3 separate regions of the Homo sapiens genome follow, and regions 1 and 3 are each linked to region 2. Evidence: promoter capture Hi-C in human tissues and cell types (Jung and others, 2019). All regions are on one chromosome and are shown on one strand. Each heading gives the region's core, a stretch centred on a gene start or on the middle of the fragment in contact. The rest is flanking DNA. Distances are from core to core; before and after follow the strand shown. Region 1 overlaps SUSD1 (sushi domain containing 1). Region 2 holds the start of INIP (INTS3 and NABP interacting protein). Region 3 holds the start of POLE3 (DNA polymerase epsilon 3, accessory subunit).

What was found. The method cuts DNA at HindIII sites, captures the fragments that hold promoters and counts their contacts. A contact is called where the count stands out against the background at its distance.
Region 1: a fragment that was not itself captured here is called in contact with the fragment with the promoter of INIP in region 2 in 1 of the 25 tissues and cell types used here (heart left ventricle).
Region 3: the fragment with the promoter of POLE3 here is called in contact with the fragment with the promoter of INIP in region 2 in 1 of the 25 tissues and cell types used here (adrenal gland).

Annotation. Positions count from the first base shown.
Region 1 is chr9:112,048,145-112,051,510 of GRCh38, forward strand. All of the region lies in intron 15 of SUSD1 (sushi domain containing 1), which reads right to left. Among named protein-coding and RNA genes, the nearest start is that of LINC02977, 9.4 kb to the left of the region's middle. The HindIII fragment of the contact is 4,177 bases long and covers 1-3,366 here.
Region 2 is chr9:112,716,531-112,719,844 of GRCh38, forward strand. INIP (INTS3 and NABP interacting protein) reads right to left here and starts at 1,587. Exons shown (of 5, transcript NM_021218.3): 1 at 1,457-1,587; 2 at 1-11. RefSeq lists an enhancer at 1,169-1,268 and a silencer at 1,639-1,798. The HindIII fragment of the contact is 8,739 bases long and covers 1-3,314 here.
Region 3 is chr9:113,408,825-113,412,286 of GRCh38, forward strand. It overlaps POLE3 (DNA polymerase epsilon 3, accessory subunit), which reads right to left and starts at 1,851. Exons shown (of 5, transcript NM_017443.5): 1 at 1,793-1,851; 2 at 1,404-1,584; 3 at 1,231-1,316; 4 at 786-904; 5 at 1-159. The coding sequence starts at 1,469. It overlaps C9orf43 (chromosome 9 open reading frame 43), which reads left to right and starts at 1,923. Exons shown (of 14, transcript NM_001278629.2): 1 at 1,923-2,177. RefSeq lists enhancers at 649-1,848, 751-1,650, 1,223-1,502, 1,743-1,932, 2,551-3,450. The HindIII fragment of the contact is 6,520 bases long and covers 1-3,462 here.

The sequences.
Region 1 (3,366 bases), core at 161-2,660, 670 kb before region 2:
TGACCTCTAGATCCAGATTTAAAGGGCTCCTGTGATTAGGTCAAGCCTATCTGGATAATCTCCCTATTCGGGAGCTTAAGTACATCTCCAAAATCCCTTCACAGCAATACCTAGAACAGTCTTTGAATGAATAACTGAGAGAAGGTAGATGTATACCAAAGACAAGGAATTTGGGAACCATATTAGAATTCTTCCCATCACAACTATAAAGGTTTAAAATGATTGTGTGCATGTATATATGTACATATATACACATATATGTACATATACAGTAAATACATATGTATACATACACACTAGGTTTATATCCTGATGTAAGTCTTCTCTGGCTTATTTGATAAGTATTGCACCTCCTATGCTTCATTTCCCATAAAACTAACTGCTGCTTCCTCAGTAATCATTCAGCCCAATTCAGTGCATTCTGATTGAACACCTAATGCATGCCAGGCTCTGTTCCTCCTCTTCAAATGCCCTTCAAGGGTGTAAAATCTAGTAGTAGAAGACAGACAAAACAAGTGCACACCCATTGCTCTAAAATATAGCAGAATAGCCAAAGAAGGGCAGATCCTGCCCTGTTGAGAAAATTTAAAAAGCTTCAGGGAAGAAAGGGCATTTGATTTTAATCTTGAAAAACAGGTGGGATAAGCAGAGATTCACAGGTGGGTGATCAGGAAATCCAGATGGAAGTCGTCAAGTAATTATATGAGCAAGGACATTAAGAGGAGAAAGCATGGGCCATAGCCAGAAAACAGCTGGAACATTGGTTTGAATGGAGAAGAATAAAAGATGTAATTAGAAGGGTATGTTTGTGTCAAATAGAGGACTTGGAAGCCAAACTGAAAAATAATGGAGGACCACAGAAGCAGAGGAAACAAAATCAGTTCTGAGTTTAGAAACAAGTCAGGTGGTGGTGTGTAGGCTGGAATGACGAGGGAAATTCTGAACTCTTGTGATGGGAGATGAGGAAGGAGGATTTGCCCGTCATCCCTGCTACAGGTAGGAAGGCCTATGCTCAGGGAGTGAACACAGAAATGAAAATCAGAGAGGCGTGCCCAAGGTGCTAAATGTGGGCTGAAAGAGAAAAAGGAGTAGTCCCGAATAACTCAGAGGTTTCATGCTTACGACTGGAGAATGTTCCCCGATTACAGCTTATTATCATCTCACATATATCAAATGACCTTGCTTTGTGACTCAAGAAATCACAGACTCATAATACTCTGTGGCTGGAAAGCATCTCAGAGATCCCAGAGAGAGGGCGACTGAGAACTGGCCAAGTTAAATACTATTTCAAAGACACTTGGCTGATTAGTAGCAGAAGACTCAGGCAAGTAAGCCCAGGCCTCTGCATCTTCCATCAAACCGACTGCTGGTTTCCTGATCATCTTTACAAAGCTCTTCTAGGGGCAATATGCAAAAGGTAAATAGCATAATTTGTCACTGGGCAAAGGCCAGAATGGGGCTGAGCCTTGGCACGAGTGAACTGGCACGATTTCAGGACTAATTTAGATCTCGGTTCTCTGCAAATTACTTTCTGAAATGGCAGTCTCCAAACTTTTTTGAAAAAGTAGACTGCCCAAGATGGGTGCACAACACAGGTAAATGTTATACATAAAAAAGTATTGCTAGAATTGCCTTCAGAATTTCCACAGAACAGTGTTTTTCCTATTATCTTCCAGAGATTTCCAGTGGTTTAATTTCAAAGGCTCAAACTCTCCTTCAATATTGGTTCTCAAGCTGAGGGGAAACCAGAGCACTGCCAAAGCCACTTAGATATTTTCAAAGCAAAATCCTCCCTGTTAATTTAATCATAGCAGAATGACTGCAGCCAGCTCTTTGGCGATTTCTTCTACCCAGTTTGAATGTCTTCCAATCATAGCAAACAGCTGCTGAGTAGAGTGGATTCTGGAAGCTATTATTTTTGTGTCTGGAAGCTTTGTCATCTTAATTATTCTGATAAAAGCATCTCTTTTCCTCGTGAGAACGCCATGCCCAATCCTAGAGCTTCAGGGGATGGACTGGCAAAAAAAAATTTATGAATGTTGGAATGTGTGGCCTTTATTAAAGTCCTACAAGTAAAGGGACTTGGCCCATCTGCACACAGAAACAGGACAGCACCCATCTTTGTCAAGAGGGGCCCTCACTGCCTGGTCATCAGCAATCCAAGATGGCTGACAGTCAGGTAACCCGCCTTGCACCCTGCTGAAAAGCCAAGTCCTCTACCCTTGTTGCAGTTGGTTTGAGCAGAGGTAAAAAGATGAAAATAAGATCAGGAGAGAAGCAGACAAATGGAGGAAGCCTAATTCCCCAGGCCCCTCCCAGATATTTCCTGCACAGTATTCTCTACTGACAGGATAAAAAATTCCCCATTAAAAAGTGCTATCCAGTGGAATCCTTAGGGAAGCAAGTTTATGCTGGCACTTCCTCACCATGCCAGTTGATTGTTTTATGCTGCTCTGAGGCGGGGAGAGGAGGTAAAGGGTTAAACTGATACTGTGGGCTAAGGGCAGAACTTGACAGCCTGTTGCTAGGACCCACAAACCACACGGAAAAGGTCCAGATTCCAAGGTCATAAACTCAACAAGATTTCTGGTATTAGCTACAAACTAATGGAATTCCTGGGAATCAAATCCACTGGCTGGCTGCCTGTTGGTTTTAAAGAAATGTACTGTACTGCCAGGGAAATCCCGAGCCTGGAAAACAAAGACCTGTGATTGCTCAAACCCTAAGGCAATTTCCCCGCCTGGATAACTCTTCCAAGGCAAAGGTTTAAGCTATACAGCGCTCAGCAGAAATGTTCCCACTGCATCTCTAAGGAAAGGCTTTGGAGGAAATGGACAAGGGGTCCCATCAGGCAGACCCAAACTGACCACCCAAGTGACCCATTCTGCTGCCAGGGCAGGGGATGCTTGCTTGTCCTGCCCAGCAAGAGGTGATCACTGCTACAGGGCCCCCTGACCACTGTACATTGCTTTATCTTTTCCTCCTTTCTAAATGAGCGTATTTATTGTGCTATTCAGTTTTCCCTCTCATATTATGTATTATGGTTTGAGATTGGTTAAATTTGCCATTTAGTCATAGATTACTTAAATAGAGCACAAGAAACACATCTGGACTTGACCAAGAGGAAGATGCTATCCCCAGGATTCCTGGTCTTGGAGCTGGATGCAGTAACGGACCCAGCTTTCAGTTGTCTTCCACTAGGGTTCCATGTGGGATCATGCATAGGATAGTTCCATTTTGTTAAGGGAAGAAGTTTTTCTTTTCTTTTTTTTTTTTTTTTTTTTTTTTTGTTGTTGTTGTTGTTGAGATGGAGTTTTGCCTTTGTTGCCCAGGCTGGAGTACAATGGCGCGATCTCGGCTCACCGC
Region 2 (3,314 bases), core at 337-2,836:
TTCACAATCACCTATAAAATATGTGTACACACATATACAATGCACCATATTTTAATCACAAACTAAAAGGAACAGCTAGCCTCCTTACAATGAAATGTTTGCTGTTTCTTAATCTCTTCAGAAAGATACATTTGTGCCGGGCGCGGTGGCTCACGCCTGTAATCCCAGCACTTTGGGAGGCCGAGGCGGGCGGATCACGAGGTCAGCAGATCGAGACCATCCTGGCTAACATGGTGAAACCCAGTCTCTACTAAAAATAAAATTAAAAAAAAAAATCAGCCGGGTGTGGTGGCAAGCGCCTGCAGTCCCAGCTACTCGGGAGGGCGAGACGGGAGAATCACTTGAACCCGGGTGGCGGAGGTTGCAGTGAGCCGAGATCGCGCCACTGCACTCCAGTTTGGGCCACAGAGCGAGACAGCGAGACTCGGTCTCAAAAAAAAAAAAAAAGAAAAGAAAGAAAGATACATTTGAAATGTACACAGACTGAAACAAATGTAAACTCTGCTAGTGCCTCAAGCATTTAATTAAATACGGCATTGTTTATTCTTGCAGATGTTCATACCATTTAGCATTACTGTCTTTAATAAACGTCATTAGGTTGTATTTACCAAATATATCAACCAATTGATAGAGTCAATATAATCATGGTGCTAGGAAGAAAAATCATTCATCTATGGTGTCTCTGCATTCGTCTAAAACACATACCCAAAAACTACTGTGTACACTGAAAGCTAAAAAAGGTAAAGGAGTACTGTATCTGCTCTGCACCATACACTGTGTAACATGCTCGAAATTAGTTCCTTTATTTATTTATCACCATTTTATAGATGAGGAAACCGTACCCAGGGTCATAGAGCTAGTAGGAATTATTTGGGCTGCTGGTTTCCAAACTTCGTGCTTTCGTACTAAATCCTGGGGAGATCCAAGATGAGCAAGACCCTAATCCTGCTTTCAGAAGGGAAAATAAAGTCTTATTCAAGCAACCATACTATTAATTAAAAAAAAAAAAAGCTTAACAAACCCGCTCTTTAAAAGGTGGGCACAGTGCCGGAGGCAAAGAATTGATTTCATTGGCAGCAAAGAGTGATGCCTTAGTCTAGGGAGCCCGGGAAAGACACAAGGGATAGAAAACAGACACCGGTTTTTAGTAAATGAATCGTTAGGTGTCTCCAGCGGCTGAAACACAGAGCGAGCAATGCGGGGTTAGGACTGGAGGACAACAGGGCCATCTTGTGACAGGGTAGACTGGCGTGCCAGAAAGGTCCCTGCCTACGGATGTGCAGAGCCGGCTGGGCCCGGGCTGTGAACGAGACGAAGGAAGCAAGTAGGAGCCAGAAATGTTAGGTGGCAAGGTCGGAAGGGAGGTCGCTGCCTGTAGCAACAAAGACGGCGGCGACAGGTTAGCACCGGAGCCACACTTTTCTATTGCCCGGTGCCTCCAGACTGTCGTACTTACCTGGGACCCGAGGACACCGGGACCGCCTCTCCTTACAATCGCTGCTCTTAAAGGGGGCGCGACCACTTAGGCAAGAGGAGCTCAACTCGCGGCACTACAACCTTCCCGCCCCCGCTGCGCTTCCGCCTCCTGACTGACGTGCGCCCCAGGGAGCGGAAACCCCGCCTCCCGCCGGGACCCAACGGCCACCGCCCGTCGTGATTCGCACTTTAGCGGCCACCTCAGTGCAGACGTCACTTTTTTTTCCAAAGAGTGACAGTCGAAGAGGCTCACGGGAGATGCAAACGGTACTTTTGGGGGCTGGGCCAGGGTGGGGCGTGGCCCGGGGCGGGGGAGGGGCGGGGCTGCCAGGCAGGGGCGGGACGGAGAACACCTGGGTCCCTAGCACCAAGACTGGCTTTTTATTCATTGCCACCGCCTGGCCGGTCTTGCGACGGTGCGAGTCCACCTCGGCTGGGCCTCGGAGGAGGGGCGACTCTAGAAGCTAAACTCGCTTTCGAGCTTTAACAACCATCTCGGATTGCGCATCCGCACACACACACACACACACACACACACACACACAAATTCAGGAATATTTTTTGTCTACAGTTTACATAATTATACACAATGAAAGCACTGAATATGGAGGATTTTTATTACAGTGCAATAATCTGCATTTAAGAAGTGGATGTGCCACATCGCAGAACACCAAGTTGCCACTAGTGGGATCACCTGCTGCCCACCTGATTCCAGCACAGTAGATAGCTACACATTTGAATTAAAAGGTAATCGTATATTGACATGTGTTCAAATTGCACTCTTTTTAATTTAAAAAAATATTTTTTATGGTGACAGTGTCTCGCTTTGTTGCCCAGGCTGGTCTTGAACTCCTGGCCTCAAGGGATCTGCCCACCTCAGCCTCCCAAAGTGCTGGGATTACAGGCGTGAGCCACCTGCCCTGCTTAAAATTGCAGTGTCTTAATCTCTTCCGAAAGATACATTTGAAAAACGCACAGACTTAAATCACAAATGTAAGCTCCCCAAGCGCCTCAAGCATTTAATTAAATAGAATGGATAATGAATTTGAACATATGTTTTTAATAATTGATGTTTGCTCAAGAGTAAAATGTTTATGATGCACAATTTTCTTGTGCATGGATCAATGACTGAAATAATCGTTTCAATATCAAGTATTTATTTACTGAAAACCAAGCATGTATTTACTCTATACCAAGCAGCTATTGAGTGCCTTCTACAATGCGAGGTGCTTCCTGTGCATCAGCTCTGGTCCTGCTGTTCCCTGATTTATATTTGAGACTCATGTTTCTTGCTCTATGTCAAGTAGCGAGCTAAGATTCAAATTTAAAGATCTGCCAGATGCTAAGGCCTGAGTTCTTAAATCTCACACATTGCCTCTGCTCTGGAGGAATGAATTCCTCTGAGACCAGTTCTTGCTGACTTGACTTTAATCCAGATATAAAGCCTAACACATGAGCATTTTGATGGTAGGCCAGGAGTCCTTTCAGTTAAGAGGACTTGGTGAGTTCTAGTATGACTAAAAAGATGACTGAGATCTATATGGCTGATAGAACCTTAGAATTTTTTTTTGTTTTGTGGCCTAGCTAATATAGAAACTAGGGCACAGAAAGTTCCAGTCTAAGTTTCAAATGGACATTCTGAACAAAGCTTATTTAAGGAGGTGGGAGTAAAAACAGTTCTAACCCTAAACAACATTTTATAATTTCTTAGCAAATTCAGCCTCTGAGAGTTGAAAGAACATTATCAGGAGAAAGATAAATTTAACTTGCTGCCAATTCTTTTGCCTTTTACTTGGTAGGTCATAGCCCTTGAAACCCTTCTGTCTTCTCCTAGAGTT
Region 3 (3,462 bases), core at 601-3,100, 690 kb after region 2:
CTTCCTCTTCATTCTGTTCTTCTTCTTCCAGCCTTTCTTCGTCTTCATCATTGTCCTCATCCCTGCTCTTGTCTTGCTCTTCCGAGTCTGTTTTTTTGTCTTTGTCCTTCTTCTTTTGCTCTGAGGCCTCCTTCTTGCCTTTCTGCTCCCGCCTATATGCTGTAAGGACGGAACAAGGGGTTAGGAGACAGAGCTGAAAGTGAGCCAGACGGACTGCAGGAGCTAATTACATTGTACAATTGGAAAAACGGAGGCAGATGGGCGCGGTGGCTCACGCCTGTAATCCCAGCACTTTGGGAGGCTGAGACGGGCGGATCACCTGAGGTCAGGAGTTCAAGACCAGCCTGGCCAATATGGTGAAACCCCGTCTCTACAAAAATAAAAAATGAGCCGCACGTGGTGGCGTGCGCCTGTAGTCCCAGCTACTCGGGAGGCTGAGGCAGGAGAATTGCTTGAACCCAGGAGGAGGAGACTGCGGTGAGCTGAGATCCCATCACTGCACTCCAGCTTGGGTGACAGAGCAAGACTCCGTCTCAAAAAAAAAAAAAAAAAAACAAAAACAAGAAAAGCAAGACAAAAACAAAAACGGAGGCAGAGAAGGAAAAATAACTTGCTCAGCATTACAAAACAGATCTGAGGTGGTGCCCACCGAACTGGGTCGAGTCACATCAAGTGCTGGCTTACTGGACTTAAAGGGACCCGCGCTGAGAAGGCTCAGGGCCTGGTGAACAGGTCACACAGGATGACCATCTTCTATGTGGTTTAGAAGACAAGAGGCTCGTTACCTTCCAGAGCTTCTTTCAATGGGGTAACGAACCGCTGGAACTCCATCTCTTCCATGGCTGAGAGCACATCACTGGCATTCAGCGTCTTCCGCTTTCCTTTCATTGCAAAGTTGTTAGCACTGAGAGAAGAGAAAGGCTGTCAGACTCCCTCTTGTTTGTAAGGCGTGAGTGGGAAAAGGAGCACCCAGAGGTGGAACGGGAAAGCCTGCCTCTTACATGTATGGATTTTGGTGTGACAGGGATAAGTCCTTCCCTTCTCTGCACAAAAAAGCTAAAGCAAAGTGATTTTGTTGTGTTATTTTGCTTCAGAACTTGTAAAAACTGGCAGAGGACTGTGAACATGTCCCCACCGAGGGAGAACACAATCGTTGGGGTTTGTAGGCTCCCAGCCAGCAACTCCCAGCCAGGTATCCCCGCGCCTCCCTTATGCCTCTGTCCCGCTCACCAGGATGTGGCGTACAGCACGAAGACGCTGGCGGCGCGGGAGATGGCGCTCCGGGCCTCCTTGGAGATGTTGACACCGTCCGGGAGCTGCGAGGAGACCGGGGGTGAGCAAAGCTGCCGTTCCAGCACCTGCTTCCCTCCTGCCCGTTCGTCCGCCCCCCCCGAGCTGCTCACCGCCTCCTTGATGATCCTGGTGATCACGGCATTGGGCAGGTTTAGGTCCTCGGGCCTCTCCGCCATTGCCGCCGCTGGGGCTTAAACTCCCCTTCGCCTCCGCTTCAGGGAGCTACTGCGTCCGGACTTCCCGCGTCGCTACGGTCTGACCCTGCGAGGTTTCCGTTCCGCCCCACGTGGCCTACAGTGTCCCACAGTGCTCTGAGCGCCATAGCCTCCCTCCTCCCCCCACAGCCCCGCCTCCGCCTCAAATACCGGCGCATCCGGATTTTGAAGCCGCAGTGGTTTTGGCCCGCCAAGGCTTCCATCCAACCCTACCGCACCCCGCACGCCCCTCCCCAGGTCCATTTCTCTGCTTCTCGCCATCGCCGCGTCGGGAACCTTCTCACCAACTTATTTGGCTCAATGGAGCTTCCGTCCGTTTCCCATGGTGCCCTGCGCCGCTGCTGGGTGACGGCGCGGCCGGGCGCAGCGCGTGGGAGACGAAGGCGTGGCTGACTCGGCGGGGCGGATCCCTTTAGGACCCGAGGCAGGCTCTGGGCCCGCCGGGTCCGTTAATCTCACCGCGCCGCAAGGGGCCACGTTTTACCACTTGATTTAGCAACCCTAAGCGGTTTGGAATCTGCTTTGCTCTCACAGGACCTCAGCCCGTCGTGATCAGATTCTCCCACTTTCTTTTTTCTTTCCTGGAATGGAGTGGGCAGTCTTTTTCCATCTCTACCGAAGTTGATGTTCATTTTTAATCTTTTCGCCCCTCACGCTTTTGTAATAATGGTACTAAGACTGAGTGTTATTTAGATTTTATTGTTGTTGTTTGTGTTTAACGCGAACTATTTAGGCAGCCCAGGGATAATGCTGGCCATATAGAGATGCGCCTGATTAGGTCTCAGGAGTCAATTCGGACTGGGCAGGTAACGAAAGGGCGAGAAGCAGCCTTTTCACTGTATGAAGAATGCAACGTCACATTCGCTTTCAAAAACAAACCGTGTTAAAATTGTATTTATTTTTCAGTTAAATTGTTCATCATACATTTTTTCCAGTTAAAACCATTCTCAAGGTTTTGCAATGGCGTTTCTTTTTTTTTTTTTTTGAGACAGTCTCACTCTGTCGCCCAGGTTGGAGTGCAGTGGCGCCGATTTCGGCTCACTGCAAGCTCCGCCTCCCGGGTTCACGCCATTCTCCTACCTCAGCCTCCTTAGTAGCTGGGACTACAGACGCCCGCCACCACGCCCGGCTAATTTTTTTGTATTTTTAGTAGAGACAGGGTTTCACCGTGTTAGCCAAGATGGTCTCGATCTCCTGACCTCGTGATCCGCCCGCCTCGGTCTCCCAAAGTGCAGGGATTACAGGCGCCAGTCACCGCGCCCGGCGCAATGGTGTTTTAAGTTGTTTTTAAGTTATTTTTATATTAAGTTCGTAGAAATTCTCACTCCCACTGATTTTATTTATTTTTTAATTTTTAAAATTTCTTGACAGGGTCTCACTCCGTCCCCCAGGCTGGAGTGCAGCGGCACGGTCTCGGCTCACTGTAGCCTCGACCTCCCTGGCTCAGGTGGTCCTCCCACCTCAGCCCCAAATAGCTGGGGCTACAGGTGCGTTCCATCACACCCAGCTAATTTTTTGTATTTTTCGTAGAGACAGGGTTTCACCATGTTGCCCAGGCTGGTCTCGAACTCCAGGGCTCAAGTGATTCTCCCTCGGCCTTGCAAAGTGCTGAGATTACAGGCATGAGCCACGGCGCCCAGCCTCCCACTGAGAATTAATGCTGCTTTTTTTTCCCGTCAAGCATGCAGTCCCAAGTCGCCCTGTAGTTTTCCTGCTTTCGATAGAAGCCTGATTATAGAGAAATATTTTAAAACAAAAGAGCAAATGCTATGATAAATGGCAACTGAAAGTGTTTCAATTAGAGACCATAAGGTCTGGTGGGGGAACTCCGCTTGGATAGAACAGACCTGGCTGAAACCATCAGGGCTGCTCAGCGCTAGTCAGTTGCTCTTCAACTGGAATTGGGCTCAGTGTTGTCAAGTATTTTGGTCCCTAAAAGGACATTGTGGGCTAT